2 separate regions of the Homo sapiens genome follow, and region 1 is linked to region 2. Evidence: promoter capture Hi-C in 16 types of primary human blood cells and fetal thymus (Javierre and others, 2016). All regions are on one chromosome and are shown on one strand. The core of a region is centred on a gene start or on the middle of the fragment in contact, and the rest is flanking DNA. Distances in the headings are between cores, read along the strand shown. Region 1 holds the start of HS3ST1 (heparan sulfate-glucosamine 3-sulfotransferase 1). Region 2 holds the start of NKX3-2 (NK3 homeobox 2).

What was found. Contacts are between HindIII fragments. The CHiCAGO score rates a contact against its expected background, and 5 or more counts as called.
Region 1: the fragment with the promoter of HS3ST1 here is called in contact with the fragment with the promoter of NKX3-2 in region 2 in 3 of 17 cell types (neutrophils, naive CD8 T cells and total CD4 T cells); the score reaches 6.8 in neutrophils.

What each region holds. Positions count from the first base shown.
Region 1 is chr4:11,426,188-11,430,522 of GRCh38, reverse strand. HS3ST1 (heparan sulfate-glucosamine 3-sulfotransferase 1) reads left to right here and starts at 1,629. Exons shown (of 2, transcript NM_005114.4): 1 at 1,629-1,824. RefSeq lists a silencer at 1,484-1,663 and an enhancer at 1,754-1,973. The HindIII fragment of the contact is 3,893 bases long and covers 296-4,188 here.
Region 2 is chr4:13,542,588-13,546,828 of GRCh38, reverse strand. It overlaps NKX3-2 (NK3 homeobox 2), which reads left to right and starts at 2,321. Exons shown (of 2, transcript NM_001189.4): 1 at 2,321-2,880. The coding sequence starts at 2,415. It overlaps LINC01096 (long intergenic non-protein coding RNA 1096), which reads left to right. Exons shown (of 1, transcript NR_015450.1): 1 at 1-753. RefSeq lists an enhancer at 1-195. The HindIII fragment of the contact is 11,352 bases long and covers 1-3,574 here.

The DNA of each region.
Region 1 (4,335 bases), core at 380-2,879, 2.1 Mb after region 2:
ATGATCTGCACTGTGCTTGGCTGCTGGTGGAAGCTTAAAGACACCAGTAATTGGCAGAACTTTATCTTAGACTTCCATTTGACCCTCACAACCTCACACATGATTTTACACAGCTTCCTATAATGGGGGAGAAAAGCCCTTCTTTTAAATCTAATGTTAGTTTAAATGCTAAGGCTTTCAAAGTGGGCCTTTAAAGTCACTTTTTAGAATTTGTATTTTTTTTTAACCTAAAATAGACATGCCAACATTATTCTGACTAAAAGAAGTAGACAAGGTCATTCAACTCCTAAAAGCTTATTTTCCAAAAGCACAGTTAGGTCTCAGCTTTCAGGGTGCTTCTGGCTGTATCAAAAAGACAGAATATACTGGTCACTGTGTTGTTTTCTGAAAGTGCCGAGGGTAATCTGTGTATGAGTTAAAGGGCCAATTTCCTATAGGAACCTTCTCTTAGATGGGATTTTTTTTTAATTAAACAATGTTGGTGAAATATATTTAAACGTAAATCACAAATTCGAAGTCTTCCAAATATTTATTTACTAATGTGGAAGACATGGAAACTACAGTAATCTCATTTAAAGGAAGTTACTTTGATGTGCATTTGCTTTTGGCGGGGTATGATTGCTGACCTGCCTTTGAGGGCAACTTCCTTTGGCTCAGGTAAGCAGGCAAACCCGTTTCTCCAAGGCGATTCCAACCCCACGCCCCTCAAAACCTTAAATCTTAAATTGAGTTATTGGGTGCAGGTCCTTTCTCCCACAGAACCTCCCAGCTTCCGGAATAGAGGAGCGGGGCAGAAATATCCTGCTTTTTATTTCAGAGCTGACGTTTGCAATCCTAGTGCACTAGCGGAAAAAAAAAAAAAAAAAAAAAAAAAAAAAAGCTGAATTTTCCGCGCTCTCCTGGCAAATTGGCGTCCGCTCTCCGACGCTAAACCAAAGGAAAAGGAGTGTTCAATGGCGACAGGGCGCTCTTTGAAGCCGGCTCCTCACGCGGATTCTGGCCCAGGCCGCCGCTCCGGTCCCAGTCCGGCTGCAGAGCGAATTGGAGAGGATGGCACCTCCTGCTTCCCGGGGGGCGGAAGGAGCGCCAGCGCCTAAGGTGGGTCACCTGCCAGGAAGGGAATACGCATGGTGCAGACTCACGTGGGAGGAGCACAGGTCCCGGGTACAAGTGCCGAGCTGGCGACTTAGAGAAGAGGTAGACTCGGGCTCAGACCAAGCAGGCGTAAGGGAGTAGACGGGACGTCCCGTGTTTGCAGTGACGGCGGAGTCACCCATCCCAGCAGCCTCACCTTCTTGGAGCGCTGGTCCCTCCCCTTGGACTGAAACCCCAGGGGCCACCGCACCGGGTGGGCGGGACCGACTACTACCCGACCAGCCGCTGGAGCTGCGTGCCAGGCGGGGCTGTGCGGAGCAGCTGAGCGCAGAGCGGAGCACCAGGCACCTAGCGGGCCGGACTCTGGGCGGCACCCGAGCGGGCCGGGCAGCAGTGGGCGCTCGCGATCCTCCTCTGCCCAACGCGCTCTCCCTCCGGGCCCGGCCTCCTCCGTCCCCTCCTTTTGCTCCCGCTCCTCCTCCCGCTCCTCCCCCTCCTCGGGATTGAGCACCAAAACGCCCGCCTGCAAGGTCCTCTGCGCCCTGGCAGCCAGGAGTCGCCGCCACGACAGCCGGGTCTCAGTGGGTGCCTGCGCCTTCTCCCCGCCCGCCTGCCCCGGGCCATCCAGAAACTTGCTCTACCCGCCGCGGGTGCTCGGCAGTGCTGCCCATGGCCCAGCCTAGGAGCCTATTTAGGGCGCCGGACGGGCTGGACAGAGGCGCGGCTCAGGTGAGTGCGGCGCGCGCGGGGTGGGAGAGTGGCAGGACGCAGGTGTAGAGGGCTCCGAGGTGCCTTTGTCTGGCGTTCTGGACTTCGGGCAAGTGCAGAACCTAAGAAGAATCGAGGCTGGAGCAGGTGGAGTGGATGCAGAGGGAACCAGGAAGCAAAGGCTGGGGATTTTCCCATCCTCCTCACCTCCTGCCCTAGCACCTCTGCTCTGGAAGTCCCGAGGGACCGGTTGATCTGTAAGGACAGGGACCCAGATTTCTGACTCTTACTGGGTTGGATGTTTTCCCCCCCTGCAGAGTCGTGAGGTTCGCTCCTGCCGGCCGCTTCGCGACCGCAGCTTCACCATAGGACCCTGTAGGGCAGCGAGAGCGCAGCACTCAACGGATCCTGGGTACCACCTGGGGCCAGAAACTGGGGCGAGGACACAGCCCGCAAAAGTAACTCGGCTGAGGGAGCCTTTGGGGGTGGAGAAGCCTTGGTCGGGTTTGCCTTTGCATTTGGTTGGAGATAGGCATCTCCCAAAGAGAGAGATTGAGGTGACAGCCCTGACAATAAACCTCTCATCCCTAATGCCAATTACATGAGGGTCTTGATTTTTTTCTTGTTACTTTTTACTGATTTTTTTCCCCCTTCGTGGTTTTCTATTTCCGGGCCCTTGGGTAGTGGCAGCGGATGGAGGTGAGGGATGGCGGGGTGCGAACCCGCGGTTGGAACGCCTAGACCCCAGCTCCCAGGAAGGGTCTTATTCGCGGAGCTTGACCTCTCCAGGTGCGCTCTACCAGCCAGGGGGCGGACGGCGCGCTGCTCCTCCTTCTAGCCCCAGCCTGTCCCAGGAAGCGGAGGACAGACCCAGAACGTAGGCGGATGATGGGAAGAAGAAGCTGGAGCCAAAGCCGGGTGCCGGCGCGGGATGGGGTGTGCTGGGCTCTGCAGTTATAGGTCTATAACTCTGCAGTTATAGGCGCTATAGGTCTTCCATCTCTTTCCCTCCCCTGGGAGCCAGCGATTCCTCGCACACTCAGGGCGCTCTCTTGGGCCAAGGGTTGCATCCTCCCTCTTCCTCCTCCTTTGCAGATCCAGTGGTACCCTTGCCTCGCCTTGCGCGAGTCTCGCTCCTCCCTTTCCCACAATGTTATCATGAGCTATTTTTATCTACAACTTGTGCCAAGATGCTTTTGGGGGGATTCTAGGGAGGCCACTCCAAATCCACTGTCTTTGCGCTGCGCTCCGAGAAACAGTCTCCTGTTAGCATGGAGCAGCCTCAAGGAGTGGCGGGGAGGGTGGCCGAGAACGGAAGGAGCCAGTCCGCCCTCTTCTCCTCCCTCAGCCCTAGCCCCGGAGGGAAACCCCGCCACCACCAGCTCGGCTGCGCCTCCCGCCAGTAGCCCCGGAAGAGGGTCCCCAGACGAGTCCCCACGCTCCCGCTTTCAGGCGCTGGGTGCTTGGACACTGCTGAGGCAGCAGCCTGGCACAGGCAGGATCCTTCATTCCCACCCGTGCGTTCTCGCTTTGCAGGCAAATCTCATTTTATTTTGTTGAAATGCTTCCACCCAAGGGTTAATTCCAGGAATTCCATCTTTAAAAAAAAAAGAAAAAAAAAGGAGGGAGAAATAACCCAACTTCTGCCTCCCTGCATTTCTAAAGCAAAGCGCATCCTTTGACGTTCGGATTTTTTTCTTGCTTTCTGCATTCCTGGTAATATTGGGTAACACTGGGTGCAATTAGAATAAGCCTTACCTACTGAAATTCCAGGAGACGCGCGCTCCGCTGCAAATCCCTGCCTTACCCTTCCCGTTGTACATCCAGCGCTTAGATTTTCCCCCACAGGATTGCAGAAATAACATATTGAAATGGACCATTGTGTTACATAAGGTTTTCTCCAGCGCTAAGCAGAGAAAGAACAGCTTCTAAAAGAGTCTTTCCAGGTTTTGGTTAGCCCATCTAACTCTTTCAGCTGAGTTTGACAGGGATGGACAACTTCATGACTAAGCACTCTTAAGTGGAAGCAGTTAATTACAACAGCAGCATAGATGAAGATTCCTTAGTGAGGCTTATTAAGCTGTGCTTCTAGACTGTGGATCCTCTGTGATGCCACAGGGTATACAATGCTCTGTAGTTTTAAGATAGGAGATTTTTGTTCTGAGAAGCTGGTGAGAAATTGGCATCTTGAGATGGCATCGGAAAAAGCAAAGGGTTCTTTACTTTCCTGTGGTTATGTCTAGAATGAAGCCTCAAGCCCCCCCCCTGGGTCCCCCTAAAAGTTGGAGCATGTACTTTTCTTATTAAAATAAGAAATTATTTTACTGGAAAAATCTTGTGAGGGTTGGGGGGGGGGCCTCTGAAGGGAAAAGCCACATGGAAGCTTCTCTTGCCTTGAATTGAAACTCGATGGTGACTAGGAAGGGGCTAGAAAGATGGCCTGGGTGGTGTAAATTGCTTCACTCATGCACACTGCCTTTCTGAGAACATAGCAGCTACCCACAATGGCATATCCCCACCGTGGTTGCTAAA
Region 2 (4,241 bases), core at 1,072-3,571:
GTGATTTGGGATTCTTTTTAAACATCGAATCAAAGGGAAGAGGGGAGGGATTCGCAACTAAATGGTAGTTGTTTTCAAGCAAGTCTTTACGTAGCCCCAAACCTACTCTAGTATTCGGTGATTCAGCCCCAAAACATCTCTGCCTGCCTTTATGTTCGGATCTCACTCCATTATTTGTCAGCACCAAGTACTAAACCCACAAAGCGATCGCTGTACGGGACACCAAACCCATACCTGCCCGTCCCCTACCTTCCAGGCAACCAGTGTCAATCTCCTCACTATACATAATTCCCAACATCCCTGCCCGAAGTGAGGAGAACGGTAATTTAAATAATACAGCGGGGGAGGAGAGGACACACTGTTTTTGAAAGACTGTAAGCATTCTGCTGTTCCACTCTGCGTCCTTACACTTGCTGAGCACTGACACCAAATTTAAATGGCGTTCCTTCAAAACTGATGTAATTGTAAAGAGCTGTAAAGGGCAATGACCTCAAGTGGATGTTTTTTCCCAGGTACCCTACAAGGTTTGCACAAAGCAAGAAAGCATCATGTAACCGAAATGCTGAAAAGTATAGATGCTGCAAAACCTCATTCTGAGACTGAGAACTATGAATAGTCAGTGTATTTCCTTCTGCGGTGCAGAAAAAGAACAACCAAAAAGAAAGCAACAAGGGGAGATGTTATTTATTTTAATGACACCAAAACTACCAATCCTAGCAATTTAATAAATTAAAATCATAGTCCTTTAAATGTATTTAATGGTTCAAGTTTGTGTATTTGGTGTTAACTCTCTGGTAAAGTTTATGGAAAACAGTGAAGTACGTTAATTGAGCAAATTTTATATTAAAAAAGGAATAACACATTTTAAAATGTTTTTATATACCCACAATATTTGTGTTTCTTAGCTTGGTTCCTACTATTACATAATACAATGCATTTCTTATTTTTTAAAGAGCAAAAAGTGTTGTCACTTCTGGATCACTTTATGGTAATTCCTAGGTATACTTCTAAGCAAACAAACATATCTATTTATAATTTTATTCAACTCACAAGTAAGAGATATTTAAAAAAAACAAATTGAAAGTTTTTTTTTTCTTCCTGATGCAAAACTTAACAAACTCCAATTAAATTCAATATTGGTCTGCCAGGGAAACGACCATAAAATTTACAGAAATTCTCCCAAAGATGCCTTTCAATTCTTCTCCTGACTTTAGTTCTAACTATACCATTTTTTTATAATTCCTCTATAAAAATCGAATCAAATCAAAGACGACGAGGAAAGAAAAATATTTCTAGAGTGATCTTAATTAACTGATCATTTCAGCAAAGAGCATTAGCAATGAAGAAGCGGCGAAACTGTAGGGAGAAAAAAAAGGATGCATTTTGTTCTTCGTGTTTATAATCCTTCCTAGAGAACAGAAACTACGAGCATGATTTATGGAACTGCATTATCTTGGATTTTCTCCGCAGATTTGACTCAACTTAGTATCAGTGTTCTGTTAAAGCGCTGGAATAAGTGGATACATCTGCAGAGGTAAGAAACGTGGTTTGGGTCGGATGAGCCTCCTTGTTGCTGGAGGGTGCTTCGAGGACCAGGCTTAGGAGAGAAGGGGTTAAGTCAGACCCTGTCTTTAGCGGCGCAACGTGCCCAGTTTTGTCTGTTAAAGTCAACGTCGCCCAACTGGAGCCAGCCAATGGACGGCCGGGAGCGCCCGGGACAGCCCAGTGGAGGGGTGTGGCCTCAGGCTGTCACTCAGCAGTGAGGAATGACACCCGGGCGGGAGGGGGGTGGTACAGTGGAACGCAAGGGAAGGAAAGAGAAAAGAAACAGATAAAACCAGGGCAGGGGGTAAAAAAGTTCCCCGCGCCTCTCGGAATCCAGCGGCCGCGGCCGCGGCTACCGCCGCCGCCGCCGGGGGTGGGCTCCGGAAGAGCCTGCCCAGCAGGGAAGGGGAGGACGGGCCAGGAGCGAAATCCTGCAGGCGAGGAAGGGACAGACGCGCAAAGAAAAAGTGACTCGGGCTGTGCGCCCCGGCGGCGCTCGGGAGGGGACTGCTGCCACGGAGGGGCCCCCGCCAATCCTCCTTCACGTCCCCCGAGGGGGCAGACCCCAGCCCGCCCCTAAGGGCGAGAAGCGATGAGATAATCCAGCTGAGCTGCGAAAGGAGAGCGTCTGGCTCTGGATTCGGGGGGAGGGGGTCTCCGGGCGGGGTGGGCCTCTAAGGTGGGGGCGAGGGTCGGCGCTGATCCTGGGACGGAGTGGGGCGGGAGCTGCTGGGCCGCGCAGCAGTGGGCGGCGGCGGCCTCGCACACCCAGCTCACTCGCGCTGCGGCCGCCGGCGCTCTCTGTCCCGCTCGGAGCTGCTCGGCGCCCCAGCTGCCCGCCCCGCCGGCCGCTCCTGCCCGCGGCGCAGATGGCTGTGCGCGGCGCCAACACCTTGACGTCCTTCTCCATCCAGGCGATCCTCAACAAGAAAGAGGAGCGCGGCGGGCTGGCCGCGCCAGAGGGGCGCCCGGCGCCCGGGGGCACAGCGGCATCGGTGGCCGCGGCTCCCGCTGTCTGCTGTTGGCGGCTCTTTGGGGAGAGGGACGCGGGCGCGTTGGGGGGCGCCGAGGACTCTCTGCTGGCGTCTCCTGCCGGTACCAGAACAGCTGCGGGGCGGACTGCGGAGAGCCCGGAAGGCTGGGACTCGGACTCCGCGCTCAGCGAGGAGAACGAGAGCAGGCGGCGCTGCGCGGACGCGCGGGGGGCCAGCGGGGCCGGCCTTGCGGGGGGATCCTTGAGCCTCGGCCAGCCGGTCTGTGAGCTGGCCGCTTCCAAAGACCTAGAGGAGGAAGCCGCGGGCCGGAGCGACAGCGAGATGTCCGCCAGCGTCTCAGGTCTGCTGCGGCTTCGCGGGGATGGGGGCCGGGCTGAGGGGATGGACGCGGAGGGCAACCACGCCGAGTGGGGTGGTCGGCTTGAGCACCCTGCGCCCTGGGGCTCGGAGGCTGGCCAAATCCCGAAGTTCTGCGCTCTGGCGCGAGCTGCTCTATCACTTCGGGAACTGAGCCCGCGAGAGACCGGAGTAGCTCCTCAGAGCCCTACGTCCTGGGGTGAGGCCTGAGACATCCTGGGCCAATGTGCATTAGACTGGGTTGGGAGAACCGCTGCCCCTTGCGTTCGGGAGTTTTTGAGTTCGTCGCCAGTGCTTTCTGCCGTGTCTGTCCCCAAATCCCCAAAATCAGGGAAGCGGAAAAGTGAGGGGTTCAGAGACCTCAGGTAGCCAGTGACCTAGCTCTGGACCAGAGACCTGCCAGTTCAAGGTCCCAGGGCCGGGCCCCACAGTAGGTGGATAGGTGGTGAAGAACACCTCCGAGTGGGCCAGAGCTGAGAATCTGCAGAACTAGAGCTTTGGGGAAAGGGCTGGTTTGGCTTTCTCAGACCCCAGGTCTGGGAGAGCAGCCCTAGGCCGAAGATCCCGGATTGGGTCTTTAGTTCATCCTGGAGGCAGGAGAGAGGCCTCCTCAGCCGTGGCCTGTCCTGTCCTGTGGTCTGGAAGACCCGGGTGCCTGCCCTAGTTGGGTACAAGCTTCTGTAGGCCTCAAGCACAGGGGACCGCTGGACCTTTCTGCTGGAGTTCTTCGGAAGGGCGGGTACGAGACCGAGAAGCTGGTGTGGGATCAGGGTCCAAAAACTCGATGCAGGGGCAACCCTCCCTCTTTACTCTCCAGTCCATCCTCTCATCTAAGGCCTCGGCTCAGCCTGTTTCCATGTCTCTCACAGCAATCCCAGGCGGCTGAGGGTGAAAGATTCTAAATACCTTTGGCCCCAGGATCCGCCTCCACCTTCCCTTACCTGCACCAGACAAGTGTGTGCTGCGAGGACGCGCGCGTGTGTGCGTGTGAACTAAGTGTGGAGAGGCGCGTGAACCCAAGCAGAGAGACGGAAATGCAGTCTAGAATCCCAATGCTCAACGCTGAGAGCCGGGAGGGCTTTCGCGGATGCTCGGGTCGAGTGCCCCAAGTTACTGAGGGGAGCCTGGGGCCCAGAGAGGGTGGGGAGCTGGTCTCGACAACACAGCGTTGACACAGCGGCTGAGTCTGCCGCCCTCCCCAGAAGAGGCCTAGATGGGATACCCAGTGGGGCAAGAGTCTAAGACTGGTCTCCCGGGCCCAGGGCCTCCCAGACCTCCGCTCCGCTTGAGTGGGATCAAAGTGTATTTCCGCCCCACTCCCGTGACCCCTGCAGTTGAGGCCCG